6 separate regions of the Homo sapiens genome follow, and all the other regions are linked to region 3. The links are contacts of gene promoters, found by promoter capture Hi-C in blood cells and fetal thymus (Javierre and others, 2016). All regions are on one chromosome and are shown on one strand. The core of a region is centred on a gene start or on the middle of the fragment in contact, and the rest is flanking DNA. Distances in the headings are between cores, read along the strand shown.

Evidence for each region. The method cuts DNA at HindIII sites, captures the fragments that hold promoters and counts their contacts. A CHiCAGO score of 5 or more calls a contact.
Region 1: a fragment that was not itself captured here is called in contact with the fragment with the promoter of VPS37D in region 3 in 6 of 17 cell types (endothelial precursors, erythroblasts, naive CD8 T cells and 3 more); the score reaches 7.3 in endothelial precursors.
Region 2: a fragment that was not itself captured here is called in contact with the fragment with the promoter of VPS37D in region 3 in 2 of 17 cell types (activated CD4 T cells and M2 macrophages); the score reaches 6.4 in activated CD4 T cells.
Region 4: a contact is called between a fragment that was not itself captured here and the fragment with the promoter of VPS37D in region 3, in 14 of 17 cell types (total CD8 T cells, total B cells, megakaryocytes and 11 more). The highest score is 11.4, in total CD8 T cells.
Region 5: a fragment that was not itself captured here is called in contact with the fragment with the promoter of VPS37D in region 3 in 13 of 17 cell types (total CD4 T cells, activated CD4 T cells, M0 macrophages and 10 more); the score reaches 7.2 in total CD4 T cells.
Region 6: a contact is called between a fragment that was not itself captured here and the fragment with the promoter of VPS37D in region 3, in 5 of 17 cell types (naive CD8 T cells, total CD8 T cells, total B cells and 2 more). The highest score is 6.1, in naive CD8 T cells.

Annotation. Positions count from the first base shown.
Region 1 is chr7:73,857,149-73,859,848 of GRCh38, reverse strand. No RefSeq gene overlaps it. Among named protein-coding and RNA genes, the nearest start is that of TMEM270, 2.7 kb to the left of the region's middle. The HindIII fragment of the contact is 4,951 bases long and covers 1-2,700 here.
Region 2 is chr7:73,450,710-73,453,409 of GRCh38, reverse strand. It overlaps BAZ1B (bromodomain adjacent to zinc finger domain 1B), which reads left to right. Exons shown (of 20, transcript NM_032408.4): 14 at 2,416-2,563. Among named protein-coding and RNA genes, the nearest start is that of FZD9, 18 kb to the right of the region's middle. The HindIII fragment of the contact is 5,068 bases long and covers 1-2,700 here.
Region 3 is chr7:73,666,426-73,669,193 of GRCh38, reverse strand. VPS37D (VPS37D subunit of ESCRT-I) reads right to left here and starts at 1,363. Exons shown (of 4, transcript NM_001077621.2): 1 at 1,098-1,363. The coding sequence starts at 1,235. RefSeq lists an enhancer at 206-1,201 and silencers at 1,183-1,482, 1,593-1,692, 1,703-1,752. The HindIII fragment of the contact is 11,431 bases long and covers 1-2,768 here.
Region 4 is chr7:73,466,736-73,469,435 of GRCh38, reverse strand. All of the region lies in intron 9 of BAZ1B (bromodomain adjacent to zinc finger domain 1B), which reads left to right. Among named protein-coding and RNA genes, the nearest start is that of FZD9, 34 kb to the right of the region's middle. The HindIII fragment of the contact is 171 bases long and covers 1,218-1,388 here.
Region 5 is chr7:73,486,419-73,489,118 of GRCh38, reverse strand. The region is part of intron 6 of BAZ1B (bromodomain adjacent to zinc finger domain 1B); the gene reads left to right. Among named protein-coding and RNA genes, the nearest start is that of BAZ1B, 35 kb to the left of the region's middle. The HindIII fragment of the contact is 1,059 bases long and covers 860-1,918 here.
Region 6 is chr7:73,508,943-73,511,642 of GRCh38, reverse strand. It overlaps BAZ1B (bromodomain adjacent to zinc finger domain 1B), which reads left to right. Exons shown (of 20, transcript NM_032408.4): 2 at 791-907. Among named protein-coding and RNA genes, the nearest start is that of BAZ1B, 12 kb to the left of the region's middle. The HindIII fragment of the contact is 3,762 bases long and covers 1-2,700 here.

The sequences.
Region 1 (2,700 bases), core at 83-2,582, 190 kb before region 3:
GTGCACCTATAATCTCAGCTGCTCAGGAGGCTGAGGCAGGAGAATTGCTTGAACCCAGAAGGCAGAGGTTGCAGTGAGCTGAGATCATGCCACTGTACTCCAGCCTGGGCAAGAGAGTGAGACTCTGTGATAAAAAGAGGGAAGGGGAGGGGAGGGGAGGGGAGGGGGAGAGAGAGAGAGAGAGAAAGAAAGAAAGAAGAAAGAAAGAAAAAGAAAGAAAGAGAAAGAAAAAGAAGGAAAGAAAGAAAGAGAAAGAAAAGAAAGAAAAAGAGAGAAAGAAAAAGAAAGAAAGAAAGAAAAAGGAAGGAAGGAAAGAAAAGAAAGAGAAAGAAAAGAAAGAGAGGCAAGGACAGATGAGTTCATGAGCAGGGTTTGAGTTCAGACAACCGGGGCTGATCCCCAAAATCCCCTGGAAAATGGTGCAGAACGCACCTCAGAGTCACCCCACCCAAGGAGCATGAATACTGGGGTATTTATCTTCCATGACCTGTCTGCTTCCTGTTGGACATTAACTCCCGCTGAACCTCCAATCTTACCAGCACAAACACCAGAGAAAGCCCTCCAGCAGATGGTCGGGTGGGGGTCTTGCAGCAGGCGGCTCAAGCAGTGTGCATGGAAACTAAGGCAGAGGACTCTGGGGTAGGGACAGCAAAAAGGAATCCAGAACAAATAAACCCCTAGACATGTGATGATGGGAGCCTTGACCAGGGCTGAGGCCCTGGAAATGGAGACAACAGATGCCAGAAATCTGTAGCAGGTACAACAGATAGAATTGGAGGATGTCAAGACCCACGATGATCTGAGACGTTGCCCAATTTCATGCTAACAAGTTAGCCAACCAGAGCTCCACAGCTGCCACAGGAAGACATGAGACTCCCAGGTCAGAGATCAAAGACAATGTTACTCATGGCAATAGCAGTGAACTAGGTTATAAGCATTTTCCATTCATTCCTTGAGCTCCAAATCCCACAGGGTGATATGACAAGGGCCAGATGATGCCTGGCAGTATCTGAGGTGGGTGTGTTACAGGAGAGGTGGCTTGAGTTTAGGGAACCCAAATCTTTTCTTTTCTTTTTTTTTTTTTTTTTTTTTTTTTGAGATGGAGTCTTGCTCTGTCACCCAGTGCAGTGGTACAATCTCGGCTCACTGCAACCTCCACTTCCCGGGTTCAAGCAATTCTCCTGCCTCAGCCTCCCAAGTAGCTGGGATTATAGGCGCCTACCACCATACCCGGCTACTTTTTTGTATTTTTAGTAGAGACAGGGTTTCTCCAGCTTGGCCAGGCTGGTCTCAGACTCCTAACCTCAGGTGATGCACCCGCCAGCGCCTCCCAAAGTGCTGGGATTACAGGTGGGAGCCACCTCGCCCAGCCTTCTTTTTTTCTTTTTTTGAGATGGAGTCTCACTCTGTCGCCCAGGCTGGAGTGCAGTGGCACCATCTCCACTCGCCGCAACTTCCGCCTCCCAGGTTCAAGCAATTCTCCTGCCTCAGCCTCCCGAGTAGCTGGGATTACAGGCTCGCACCACCAAGCCCAGCTAATTTTTGTATTTTTAGTAGGGATGGGGTTTCACCATATTGGCCAGGCTGGTCTCGAACTCCTGACCTCAGGTGATCCGCCTGCCAGCGCCTCCCAAAGTGCTGGGATTACAGGCATGAGTCACCGCGCCTGGCCAGGAAACCCAAATCTTTTCTAATGTGCAGTAAGCAGGGCTGCCTTTTGCCCCAGAAGGAGACATTATGTCTTCCAAGGTTGTCTGATATACAGATATCCTAGAAAAGAAAGTCCAGGGCAAAAGGCAATCCATTAGTGCCTCACTCACAAGACATACAGAAATGTGAAAGACACATAGACAGAGGCATCCCAACAGAGGAATGAACAGGAAAAGAAGTAAAGCGAGACAGGGGTCAGGGATACCCCCAACCCAGAAGACTTGAGTGAAAGGCAGAAAGTAGCGCTGCCCACCAAGTGGGGGCGGGGAAGAGAAGGAGTAGGTTTGGGGAGAGAGGCAAAGGGATTGCTGGGGGTCAGAAGGTGGTGGCTGAGCCGGGTGCAGTGGCTCACTCCTGTAATCCTAGCACTTTCAGAGGCCAAAGCAGGTGGATCACTTGAGGCCAGGAGTTCAAGACCAGCCTGGGCAGCATGATGAAACCTGGTCTCTACCAAAAATATAAAAATTAGCTGGGTGTAGTGGTGCATCCCTGTAATCCCAGCTACTCAGGAGGCTGAGGCAAGAGAATCTCTTGAACCCGGGAGGCAGAGGTTGCAGTAAGCCGAGATCAGGCAACTGCACTCCAGCCTGGGTGACAGAGCAAGACTCCATCTCAAAAAAAAAAAAGAAGGGAAGGAAGGAAGGAAGGAAGGAAGGAAGGAAGGAAGGAAGGAAGGAGGGAGGGAGGGAGAAAAGAAAAGAAAAGAAAGAGAGGTGGCTGAGACTGGGATTTGCAGTTTGTTTTCCCTCCTCTCTTTGGTTTGCCACCACCATCACCTGGTATCCCTGTCCCCAGAACTCCACTGCCACAGAGGCTGAGCTGATATCTCCAGCCTCATACTGACCACACTCCCCGTGGTCAGTGTGGGAGCTAGAGCAGAAGAGACCTCACTCTGTCCCACAGCCCCTATGGGCAGCCCCATGGGAATGCTAGGCACATGTCTCAGTCCCAGCTCTAGTCACCTGCCCTTCCCTGCCCCCACCAAAGCCC
Region 2 (2,700 bases), core at 149-2,648, 220 kb after region 3:
TGTGTTCCACAGTGAAGTAAACTCATTTTAGTTTGTCAGATGAGACTTGTTCTTAGCTTAGTTGGGGAGGAAAATGTGAGAAGTTTGCAGGTCCAGACACAGTACATAAATGGAAAGCATGGAAGAGTTTCTTGGAAAATCAACTAGGTTGCCTACTAAGTAGTTCAGCAGTGTTCTGCATTAAAATGGCATTATGCCTCGTGGTTCCCCACCAGAGGTCAACTCAGCCACAGCTTTGAAATTTTCCACTGCTCTTTGCTTTGAAGGTTTCCACTTAGCAAGGGCCAAAGTTTTTTCAACTGGCACTAGGCTGTTGCATGAGCTTTTATCAGTCTCTAATCTAGGATTCAGCTTCCTTATTTATAAAAATGGATTGTCTCTCAAATCTCTTTTTGTAATAGTGGTTGATTTCGGTTTTTAATGCTTATTTTGTTTTATTGAATTAAATAGAAAAGACTGATATATTGTTTGGCAAAATCCTGGGTTTTGTTTGATTGTTTACTTTGGTGGCGTTTGTCCGGACATCCTGATTACAGATGCTCCTGAATTTAGGATGGGGCTATGTCCCAATAAACCCATTGTTTGACTTACAGTATTTATAATTTATGATGGTTTTATCTGGGTTTAACCCTATCATAAGTCGAGGAGCCTGCTGAATGTGTATCACTTTTTTTTTTTTTTTTTTCTCGAGATGAAGTCTTGCTCTGTCACCCAGGCTGGAGTGCAGTGGTGCAATCTCGGCTCACTGCAGCCTCCGCCTCCCGGGTTCAAGCAATTCTCCTGCCTCAGTCTCCCGAGTAGCTGGGACTACAGGCACACATCACCACACCCGCCTAATTTTTGTATTTTTAGTAGAGACCAGGTTTCACCATATTGGCCAGGCTGGTCTCGAACTCCTGACTTTGTGATCCGCCCGCCTCGGCCTCCCAAAGTGCTGGGATTATAGGTGTGAGCCACCACGCCCGGCCGAACGTGTATCACTTTTGCACCATTGTGAAGTCATAGGTTTGACCCATCGTAAGATGGGGTGATTCTGAATAACCAAAATACGGAAGCAGCCCAGGTAACTGTCAGCTGATGAATGGATAAACAGCATGTGCAATGTCTATTCAATGAGATATTGTTCAGCAGTAAAACTGATGAAAGTACTGTTACATGCTTTGCGAATGAACCTAGAAACATGCTCAGTGAAAGAAGCCAGTTACAAGGGCTACCTATTATTGTATGATACTATTTAAAATCTGTTTTTTAAAAAAACGAGGTTAAATAAGCCTATTCCCAAAACACCTTCAAATTTAAAAAAAGTTTTAATGAGGTCAGATGAGCTATTGGATGCTCAGATTTTATAATTCATAGGAAATAGTAAAAAGCAGGACTGCCCATGACTGTTTTCTTCCATACTGTGTGCACTACATGTGAATGTCCACTAGAGGACAGCAAAGCCCATTGGTAGTCATTCCCTGCCAGTTCTCAAGCACTTTTAAAGAACCGAACCTGAAATTCTTACATTGATATTCCATTGAAAAGATTTGGGTTATCCTCTCAAGAAGAGAATCTGCAGTAGTGTCTGTCAGCTCTCTTTTTATCAGGGGAGAAGACAGCAAGGCAGCTGTGATTGTGGACCTCAGTTTACTGAGGAGCTCTGCAAAAGTAAGGAAGGAGATTGCTGTTTTTCAAAGCAGATGTTGAAATATCTACAACAGAGTCAGTCAGTTTCCAGTTGAACTTTAGCAGCTTCTTAAATGTAGATTTTTGTATGTGTGTTTATATTACTTATCCTTGTTATTCATAAATTTATACACACAAGGCTCCCTGTGATTCTCTGTTTCTATAGGAAAGAGAAAAAGCAGCCCTGTTCCCCTCATCCCTCTCCCCAGTCTGTTTAGTACCCCACTTCGGAACAGAATCAACTATCTTTGTTCCTTGGCACCTGTATTTTAAAGCCCATGACCTTCCAGGATAACTGGCTGTTTTCCTTTAGGAGATTCATTACTTCACAAGGACTTCTTTGCTTCGGGCAGGGCATTGAAATCCAGCTGTGGTATTGGATTGGTGGTGTTGTGGTAGGTTATTGATTATCTTTTAAATCGGAGTTTTATTAGCTGTCTAAAATTGTTGCATTATAGCATTTACAGCATACAGGTGATCCTATTTTTAAATTATACTGAGTTGTTAGGTGGATTTCCCTAGAAGATGCTTGTCCCCAGTCATCCACCCACTCCACTGCATCTCTGTGTGACCTTTGGCAAGTTTTTTTCCCCCTTTGGAGCCTTTTATAAGAATAAATGGTTTAGATTAGTGAAGTTCTAGGAGGCAAGTGTCCTCAGAATTCTCTCATACTGTCCCCTGTTCCTAGTTCTCTCTCAGTGTCTTTGGTCAGTGTAGTAATGCTGGCCTGGTTTGGTCTCTGTTTAGGTTGCATCTGCACTGGAGAAATGGAAGACAGCAATCCGGGAAGCTCAGACTTTCTCCAGGATGCACGTGCTGCTTGGGATGCTTGATGCCTGTATCAAGTGGGATATGTCCGCAGAAAATGCTAGGTGCAAAGTTTGTCGAAAGAAAGGTATATTTAAATCAAATTTGCTTATGTGGGTATATTAGGGAGTAGGATTTCTATTCCCAAGATCTTCATTTCTACCCAAAAGAATTTTGTGTACACAGAATATAAGTGTGGTATAGATTTTACTCTCCTGCAGGTCT
Region 3 (2,768 bases), core at 114-2,613:
ATCGAGTTAAAAAACATCCACCTTATGGGGTTGTTGAGAGACTTAAGTGAGGAAAACTATAAAGGCCTCTACAAATGTTAGTTAATTTTTAATTTTTCAATTAATATGTCTGCTCAGGTCCCGGAGGAGTGCCCCTCCCTCCTCTGCCCCATTTTCCATGCATGGACAGCTTCCCTCTCACTCCAGGCCTTTGTCTGTTTCCTCCTCAGGTGTTTGCACCGAAAACACTCCCACCCCCTGCTCATCCTCTCCAGAGGGGTGTCTGCACCCCGTCCCCTCACAGCACCCCCTCGGGTCACCCTCTCTTCCCTTCCCACCCCTTCCTCTGCCTCCAGTGGAATCCTCACACCCCAAGGAATACACACCCCCTTTTCCTCCCTGCTCCGGGCTTACAGCAGCCCCGGCCCTGGAGAAGGCTTTTTCCTTGTCTCTAGCAGGGCCCAACCTCCCCTCCCTGCCCCTGGAGAACGCACTCCCCTCCATCTGTCCCTTGTGGGATGCACAAGCCCCTCCTCGCCTGCCTGCTTTCAACACACACTTGCCCTTTCTGCCCCCCACAGACAACCAGCCCGGGCCTATCTCCCGTGAAATATACAACTTTCTCTTACGGTGGCCTATGCAATACACACGGCAGCTTCCAGCACCCCTCCCCAACGCCAGGCACAAAGCCCCCTCTTGCGCCCCCAGAATGCGTGAACCCCCAACGGCCCCTCCAGGTGTCAGACAGGCCCCTAGTTCTCCCAGTGGAAGGCGCCTCCTCTTTCTGGCCCTTACAGAACGTGGGTGTGCGAGCCAGGGCCCCCCACAACACAGCCCCCCGGAACACACCTCCCCGGAGCATCCGCTGTAGGACACGCCTCGCGGCCATCCTGGGGGTGCACAGGCGCCCCCCTCGGGTCCCCGGCGCCCCACCCGCCCCAGGCCAGCTCCAAGCGCCCCCTCCCCCGGGGGTGGCTCCGCGGGGCCCACTCGTACGTGCCAGGCTCCGCGCCCACGGGCGGCCCCGCGGCCCGGCCCGCGCGGCCCTTCCCTCGAGCGGCAGGTCCCGCAGGCCGCTGCCCGTCCCCCGCGCCCCCCGCTCGAGCCCCCCGCGCTACCTTCCTGCTGAGCCGCACGATCCGGTCCAGCTTGGGCTCATCCTGAAGCAGGTCCCGGAGCTGCCCGGTGCTGAGGATCCCAAAGCGCCCCGGGCTGCCGGGCTCCGGCCCCGCCCGCGCCGCCCGGGCCCGGTACATGCCGCCCGCCCGCGCCCCCAGCTCGGCTGCTGGCTCGGCCCGCTCGGCCCGCTCCGCCCCGGCTCCGCTCCGCTCCGCTCCGCTCCGGCTCCAGGATCCGCTCCGGCTCCGGCCGCACGCACCGCTCCGCCGCCAGGGGGCGCCCCTCCCGCTCTTAAAGGAGCCGCGGCGCCGGGGCTGGGGGTGGGGCAGGGAGGAGGCGGGCCGCACCCCTCCCCGCCCCGGCCGCGCCGCGCCGCCTCCAGCACCCCAGGATCGCCCAGCAACCCGATCTCCCCGCCCCTCCCGGAATCTGAGCCGCCCTGCTCTGCGCCCCAGCACCGGCCCTGGCTCACCACGCCCCCAGGCACGGACTCTCCCACCCCGGGCGGTTACAATTTGCAGAGCCCGTGCACGTTTTCCCCTCGGATGGCAACAACAAATTTCTGACTTTGGCCGGGCGCCGAGGGCTCCTGCCTTGCAGCCCTCCCCAAGCCTCAGTTTTCTCTTCTGTAAAATGGGGTTGGAGATGGTGAGCGCTGACTTGCTGGCCGGGCGCGGTGGCTCTCTCCTGTAATTCCAGCGATTTGGGAGACCGAGAAGGGAGGATCGCTTGAGGCCAGGAGTTTGAGACCAGCCTGGGCAACATAACAAGACCCCCGTCTCTATTTAAAAAAATTTAAAAATTGTCAAAAGGGTGAAAAGAGGCCGGGCGCGGTGGCTCACGCCTGTAATCCCAGCACTTTGGGAGGCCGAGGCGGGCGGATCACGAGGTCAGGAGATCGAGACCATCCTGGCTAACATGGTGAAACCCCGTCTCTACTAAAAATACAAAAAAAATTAGCCGGGCGTGGTGGCGGGCGCCTGTAGTCCCAGCTACTCGCGAGGCTGAGGCAGGAGAATGGCGTGAACCCGGGAGGCGGAGCTTGCAGTGAGCGGAGATCGCGCCACTGCACTCCAGGCTGGGTGACAGAGCGAGACTCCGTCTCAAAAAAAAAAAAAAAAAGAGTGAAAAGAACAATTTTTAAAAGTATTTAAATGCTTTTAAAAAGTATCCGGACATGGTGGCATGCGTCTGTAGTCCTAGCTACTCAGGAGGCAGAGGTGGGAGATTGCTTGAGCTCAGTTTTGAGACCAGCCTGGGCAACACAGCAAGACCCCATCTCTATAAAAGTAAAATTAAAATGCTGAGGGATAGTGATATGGCTAGCAATGTTATAATGAATACACATAGTAGGTCAATACCCACTTGTTATTTTAGACATGCAGAAGCATCACAGAGGCCGGGCACGGTAGCCCATGCCTGTAATCCCAGCACTTTGGGAGTCCAAGGTGGGTGAATCATTTGAGGTCAGAAGTTTGAGACCAACCTGACCAACAAAAATTAGCCGGGCGTGGTGGTGGGCGCCTGTAATTCCAGCTACTCAGGTGGCTGAGGCAGGAGAATCGCTTGAACCTGGGAGGCGGAGGTTGTAGTGAGCCGAGATAGCACCACTCCACTCCAGCCTGGGCGACAGAGACTCCGTGCTCCGTCTCAAACAAAGAAAAAAAAGA
Region 4 (2,700 bases), core at 54-2,553, 200 kb after region 3:
TTTTCCATTTGCAGAATTTCTTTATTGTGGTCTTAGATCTATTTGAGTGAAGTAGGTAGATGTGAAATGTGTAGAAAGAAGGAGAGAAACCCACGTTTGATTACCACCTTTGTTCTAAGCATAGTGTGAGAAGATGAAGAGCTTGAATATGAGGATATTTGGGTATTAGCTTTTATAGGAGCAGTTTTCAAACTTTGTCCCTTGGAAGCCTTTGTAGGTGCCTCAAGGGCTGAAATTGAGGTATGGGGTCTAAGAAGGGCAGTGTTAGATGTCCTCTTCTTCTTCTTCTTTTTTTTTTTTTTTTTGAGACGGAATTTCACTCTTGTTGCCCAGGCTGGAGAGCAATGGCGTGATCTCGGCTCACTGCAACCTCCACCTCCTGGGTTCAAACACTTCTCCTACTTCAGTCTCCCGAGTAGCTGGGACTACAGGTGTGTGCCACCACATCTGGCTAATTTTTGTATTTTTTGTAGGGACGGGGTTTCGCCATGTTGGCCAAGCTGGTCTCAAACTCCTGACCTCAGGTGATCTGCCCACCTCGGCCTCCCAAAGTGCTGGGGATTACAAGTGTGAGCCACTGCACCTGACCCTCTTCTTCTACTTTTAAAATTAATTTATTCAGTGTTTATGCTGAATCTCTATTTGTGAAGCAGTTTGTCATACGCTAGGGGTATAGCAGCAAACAAGACAGATAAGGTTCTTAAAATTCTTGTGAGGAGAAACATGGCAAATACCTAACGAAAAATGAGTGACTGAGAGGGGATCATGTAGGGACACTGGTAATATTCTTTCTCTTGATCTGGGTGCCGGGTATATGTGTTCAGTTTGTAAAAGAAACACACACTGAATAGTTTTCTGAATATATATCCATATTCTTTCTTAAAGTGTATGTATTGAGTATATTTCAAGAAAGAAATAAAACAAATTTTAATTAAAAAAATAAGATGGTTAGGTTAGGTCAGGTTTTCTCAACCTCAGTGTTACTGACATTTTGGGCTAGATGAATCTTTTTTTTTTTCCTCCCACCATGACACTGATGAGGAAGATAGTTTTTTGTACTGGGAGCTGTCCTGTGCATTATAGGTTATTCGGGAGCTCCCCTCTACCCACTAGGTGGTAGCAGTGAAAACCAAGTATGTCTCTAAATCCTGCCAGATACATGTGGCAGGCAGCAGTGCTCCCTTTCGAGAACCACTAGGTTAAATGATCCATAAGCTTCTTTCAGCTCTGCTGTCTGTAACCTAATGAAAATTGCTTATGTGTTGGTGTCATGTGGGAGATAAAGAAATAAAAGAAGTTGCTTCCTGAGTACTAGGTTATTGTGCTTCTTCGATAAATCTTTATTTTTTAAAAAGTAATTCATTTTAGAGAAATTCCTAACTCAAGCTTGAAACTCACAAAATTGTTAAATAAGAATAATACTGATTTACAAAAATAAACATTCCTTCAAATAAAACTTCAGATTTAAGGTGTTTGCATGTTGAATTATATCGAGCATAGATTATGTCACTTTATAGAAGAATCTGGTTTCGTTAGACTTCATAAATACTCAGGTGAGGGCAGTTAGGTTTGAGAGCAGTAACTGTGGAGCCTGGATGTTTAGATTTGGAAGAGATTCCAGTGGGATGAAGGAGTGTTACTTTATAATGTGTCCCCGAGACAAGATTGGGGAGCCAGACCCTTCACTTCTAGAGCATCCTGGTGGATGTTGTTTCGTGTTTTCCAGTTCTAGAATGGCAGTTTTTATTTAAAATTACCCAACTGAGGCTGGATGCAGTGGCTGATGCCTATAATCCCAGCACTTTGGGAGGCTGAGGCAGGCGGATCACTTGAGCTCAAGAGTTAAAAGACCAGCCTGGCCAACATGGCGAAACCCCGTCTCTACAAAAAACACAAAAATTAGCCGGGTGTGGTGGCGGGCACCTGTAATCCCAGCTACTTGGCAGGCTGAGGCAAGAGAATTGTTTAAGCCCAGGAGGCAGGGGTTGCAGTGAGCCAAGATTGCGCCACTGCACTGCAGCCTGGGTGACAGAGCAACATTCTGTCTCAAAAAATTAAAAAAAATAAATAAATTACCCAATTGAAAAGACTAAACAAAGTTATGTGTTAGTATTGCAGAGATGTTTCAGGTTAAAGTGGGGAGAATGGGAAAGAGAAGATAAACAATCATAGTATGAGGTAAGGCTTCAAATATTGTGGTGACTGGCCGGGCGTGGTAGCTCACACCTGTAATCCCAGCACTTGGGAGGCCAAGGCGGGCGGATCACCTGAGGTCAGGAGTTGGAGACCAGCCTGGCCAACATGGTGAAACCCCATCTCTACTAAAAATAGAAAAATTAGCCAGGTGTGTTGGTGTGTGCCTGTAATCCCAGCCACTCGGGAGTCTGAGGCAGGGAGAATTGCATGAACCTGGGAGGCAGAGGTTTCAGTGAGCTGAGATTGTACCACTGCACTCCAGCCTGGGCGACAGAGCGAGACTCTATCTCAAAAAACAAAACGAAACAAAACAAAAAACCAAATATTGTGATGATCTAAGATAGGCTTTGATAAATTGGCTCAAGATATATCTATGTTAAAGTCACGTATCAGTATATAGGAACTGATTTACAAAAAAGTTAGTTGTATTATTTGACACTTGAAGCCTCCAAGGATAAGTCTATAGTATTTATATGTTCTCATTACCTCTGCTTCACTACAGAT
Region 5 (2,700 bases), core at 140-2,639, 180 kb after region 3:
TATAGCAGGTTTTGAACTCTAACATCAGATAATGAATTAAAAATTTTTCAGGTATATCTGTTACATACAGGTTGTTATGTGAGGTTGGTAGGGGAGAGGCCACATTTAATATCTTCCCCAGTTCAATTTATTTTTTATTATGCTAGCATAATTTTAAAAGTCTATATACATGTGCTTTTGTGCCTCAGACCCTTTTTGGAATGAGGTATGGTATAAATATAAAAAGTATTTTGTTAACCAGTTACCAAGAATGAAAACTGATTTTGCATGTCGGACAAGATGATCACATACAGTGGCAGCCTTGAAAAGAACCTGGAATGAGGAGCAGTGTGTGTGATAGATTAGTGGAAAACCTAGTATTTTCCTCTTGAAGAGTAAGTTTTTTTTGTTTTTTTTTTTTTTTTGAGTTGGAGTCTCGCTCTGTCACCCAGGCTGGAGTGCAGTAGTGCGATCTCGGCTCACTGCAACCTCCTTCTCCTTCTTCTCAGCCTCCTGAGTAGCTGGGATTACAGGCATGTGCCACCACACCTGGCTAATTTTTCTATTTTTAGTAGAGATGGGGTTTTGCCGTGTTGGCCAGGCTAGTCTTGAGCTCCTGACCTCAAGTGATCCGCCTGCCTCGGCCTCCCAAAGTGCTGGGATTACAGATGTGAGCCACCATGCCTGGCCGAGAAGGAGTAATTTTTAAAATCCTCACTTTTGATTTTCCAAATATTTTTATGAAGTTATATGGTACATATATATATTTCATTTTACAGATGGGGTATCTGAGGCCTAGTCTAATCAGAACCAACAGAAAGTGATGACAAGACTTAAGACACTGGCCTAGGATTTCTGATTTTCTTTTCCATTTCAAGCTTTACCTGTTAAAGTGGTTTTTTAATGTAGGTTTTGAAAGTACTTAATGCTTCTTTCATTGGTAAATGTAACGCAGCATACTGGCTGATAATTTTCATCTTGGTCTCTGGGCCAGCGTAGAACCAGAAAAGGGCTCTTGATCCATTAAAACTAGGTCACATTTCCAGGATTTCTTTTTTTCCCATTTCATTTAATTATGAAAATATAAAGACATCTGAAGTCATAACAACTAAATTTGTTCAATTATCTTAAGTTGATTATGGTGACAAAAGCATATTGAAAAGTAATTTTATTTCTCCAAAACATTAGTAAAGACCTCCAGTCATGGTTTTAGCACTTAGCAGATTTTCTTATTCTAGACCAGCAAGATAAGTGGTGTCTTCTGTTATGCTCTTTAAATTATTATTATTTGCTTAAAAGGAAAAATTTAGAAAGTAATTGGCTTTTTCTAGATCAGGACTAAATTTTCCATGGAACTATAATTTTTTTCTCAGATGTTTGTTTTTGTTTGTTGAGGAGAAATTTTGAGTTCACTGTCATTTTGTTGCCACAGAGTTTGGAACCATGATTCAGCTTTCTGTGGTCTTCACATGAGATTCCTATCTTCGCTATATGAGAACTCCATGAAACCATCTCTAAATGGGTTTTAGACTAATTCTTGGATTACTTGAGTCCTTAATATTTTCCTCTTTTCTAATCTTACAGCTCTGTTTTATGTATTTTAGTTTAGTGATTCAAGTATGTGAATAATGTGAAAGACTCTTTTTATGGGTAAAATATTTTTTGAGTTTCCTAAGACATAAAAGCTGATCCACACTTATTTCTTACTTTAGAGACAGGGTCTTGCTCTGTTACCCAGGCTGGAGTGCAGTGGGACAATCACAGTTCACTGCAGCCTGAAATTTCTGGGCTCAAGTGATCCTCCTCCCTGTGTCTCACTAGTAGCTGGGGACTACAGGCACGTACCACCACGCCCAGCTGATCCACAATTTTTGTAGGAGAGAGAGACTAGAACTCCAGGAACTTAAAACCTGAAAGGCAATTTCTGAAGAAATAAGCTTCTCCCAGAATTTCTAGTGGGGGCTTAACTTACTAATGTTATGAAATTTGGCTATAATTTAGGTTAAGACTAGGAAATGGAAGCTTGCTTAAAGTGCTGGAAGATGGCAGTGATTTTACTCAGAAAACTTAAGACTCATGTAAAATACTGGTCTACAAAGTTAAAGGCATATACTCAGGTTTATTATTTGTTTTCCCTACCTTAAACAATAATTTCTTATTTCCTAATACTATCTGACATGTCACTGATTGTTTTCTGTATATAAGCTGTGTTTTTCCTATTTATAAAATTAGGACTTTGGCTTCTCAGCCAGGGCAAAACATAGTAACACAGATGATAAGTAGAACCTAAAACATTGCTTTGTTTTCTTTCTTTTTCTAGAAGAAATTTAAAATAATCTGTTGAGGATTAAAGTTGATCACATAGGACCCATCCATCCAAAGGCATGGGATGTTTTCTCTCTCTGTATACTCTTTGGTTTTTGTAGAATGTAATGTTCTGTCAGGCTCTGAGTACATTTACTGTAGAGTGAGACCAGGTGTAAAGAGAGTGAGTTCTGAGCAATAGTTTTAGCAGGCCAGGCGCAGTGGCTCACGCCTGTAATCCTAGCACTTTGGGAGGCCGAGTTGGGCGGATCACGAGGTCAGGAGATCGAGACCATCCTGGCTGACATGGTGAAACCCCGTCTCTACTAAAAATACAAAAAATTAGCCGGGCGTGGTGGCGGGCACCTGTAGTCCCAGCTACTCGGGAGGCTGAGGCAGGAGAATGGCATGAACCTG
Region 6 (2,700 bases), core at 77-2,576, 160 kb after region 3:
TTTTTCTTATGAGTTTTTGGTACAGCGTAAGTCTTGTGTAATGAAACTTTGGTGAATTGAGGAAATCACATTTGTACTAAAATATTAATTTTTTTTGTAAAACACGAAAAACCATTTTTATTATTTTTTATTTTTATTTTTTGTAGAGATGAGGTCTCATCATGTTGCCCAGGCTGGTCTCGAACTCCTGGTCTCAAGTGATTGTCCTGCCGTGGCCTCTCAAAATGCTGAGATTAGAGACGTGATCATCCCAGTCTGTAAATCCCATGCAGGTGCCCAGCCCATGACAATCCATTCTCATTATACTTCAGTCTTAGTCATCTTGCTTTGGGCCCTGATTCCATTTTTTTCATTTTTTTTTATTTTTTTTAGTTTTTGAGACGGAGCCGCACTGTCTCCCAGGCTTGAGTGCAGTGGCGTGATCTTGGCTCACTGCAAGCTCCGCCTCCCGGGTTCACGCCATTCTCCTGCCTCAGCCTCCTGAGTAGCTGGGACTACAGGCGCCCACAACCACTCACAGCTAATTTTTTGTATTTTTAGTAGACACGGGGTTTCACCGTGTTAGCCAGGCTGGTCTCGATCTGACCTCGTGATCCGCCCGCCTCGGCCTCCCAAAGTGCTGGGATTACAGGCGTGAACCACTGCGCCCGGCCTCCAATTCCATTTTTATCCTCTCATGCTACACATTTTAAAAAGGAGACTAGATTTTTTTCTGTATATAAGTATCTTATGGGTATGGGTTTGTCGTCTCTGTTGCTTGCATATTGTTTTCCTGAACTACTGCCAACAGAGAGTATGAAGCCCGCTTGGAAAGGTACAGTGAGCGCATTTGGACGTGCAAGAGTACTGGAAGCAGTCAGCTAACACACAAGGAAGCCTGGGAGGAAGAACAGGAAGTTGCTGAGCTGTAAGTAATGGAAGTATTGCTCTTTGCCACCATCTTCACATTGTTAGGAAAGGAGGGAATATTAACCCTAAAGCAGTATGTGTATTTAAGTTTATGGGGCACAAATTAGACTATATTACATTAGTGTACTGTATGGGTTTCTGGGTTCCTTTGCCTAATGGCATTTTGCAGTAGCAATATGGAATATTTATTTAGTTATAGGTGCACTTGTTTAGGTATTTACCAGGCCTTTGAGTGTTCCTGCTCCATACTTTGACCTTGTAAGTACTCTGGTAATGTGGTTTATTCTTTTTTGCTTTTTCTTTTTTTGAGACGGAATCTCGCTCTCGCCCAGGCTGGAGTGCAGTGGCACGATCTCGGCTCACTGCAAGCTCCGCCTCCCGGGTTCAAGTGATTCTCCTGCCTCAGCCTCCCAAGTAGCTGGGACTACAGGTGCTCGCCACCAAGCCCGGATAATTTTTTGTAGTTTTAGTAGAGATGGGGTTTCACTATGTTAGCCAGGATGGTCTCAATCTCCTGACCTCGTGATCCTCCCGCCTTGGCCTCCCAAAGTGCTGGGATTACAGGCGTGAGCTACCGCGCCTGGCCCTTATTCTTATTTTTATTTTTGAGATGGAGTCTCACTCTGTTGCCCAGGCTGGAATGCAGGGGCACGATTTCGGCCCACTGTAACCTCTATCTCCTGGGTTCAAGTGATTCTCGTGCCTCAGCCTCCTGAGTAGCTGGGTCTACAGGCGCTCACCACCACGCCTGGCTAATTTTTGTGTTTTTAGTAGAGATGGGGTTTCACCATGTTAGCCAGGCTGGTCTCGAACTCCTGACCTCAAGCGACCTGCTCATTTCGGCCTCCCAAAGTGCTGGGATTACAGGCGTGAACCACTGCACCCAACCGGGTATGATAATTAAATTTTTTTTTTTTTTTGCTAGTTTAATAAGTGAAAAGTGTTAAATCATTGCTGTCCTTTTGCAACAGCTCTGGTGTTCAAGTCACGTTTCCAACATGTTAACGCTTCCTGGTTTCCTTTTTTTTAAGAGGCACAGTTTCGCTCTGTTGCCCAGGGTGGAGTGCAGTGGTATGCACATAGCTCCTGGGATCAAGCCAGCCTCTTGCCTCAGCCTCTTACGTAGCTGGAACTATAGGTGCATGCCACCTCACCCAGCTAATTATTTTAGTTTTTTATAGAGGCAGGTTCTCACTCTGTTGGCCAGGCTGGTCTCAAACTCCTGGGCTCAAGCAATCCTCCCACCTGTGCCTTTCAAAGTGCTGGGACCCACTGTGTCCAGCAAACTGCATGTTTTTTTTTAATCTTTGTATTCCCCAGTGCTTTACGTATATTTGCTAAAGCAGTGTTGTTTTGCTGTGAACCTAAAACTCGTAAAATGTTAAGTGTTTTTTTTTGTTTGTTTGTTTTTTGAGACTGAGTCTCTCTCTGTTGCCCAGGCTGGAGTGCAATGGTGTGATCTTGGCTCACTGCAACCTTCGCTTCCCGTGTTCAAGTGATTCTCCTGCCTCAGCCTCCCGAGTAGCTGGGATTACAGGCATGTGCCACCACGCCCGGCTAATTCTTGTATTTTGAGTAGAGACAGGGTTTCGCCATGTTGGCCAGGCTGGCCTTGAACTCCTGACCTCAGGTGATCTGCCCGCCTTGGCCTCCCAAAGTGCTAGGATTACAGGTGTGAGCCACCACGCCCAGCCAAAAGTTAAGTCTTTTTTTTTTTTTTTGAGATGGAATCTCGCTCTGTCGCCCAGGCTGGAGTGCAGTGGTGCGATCTCGGCTCACTGTAAGCTCCGC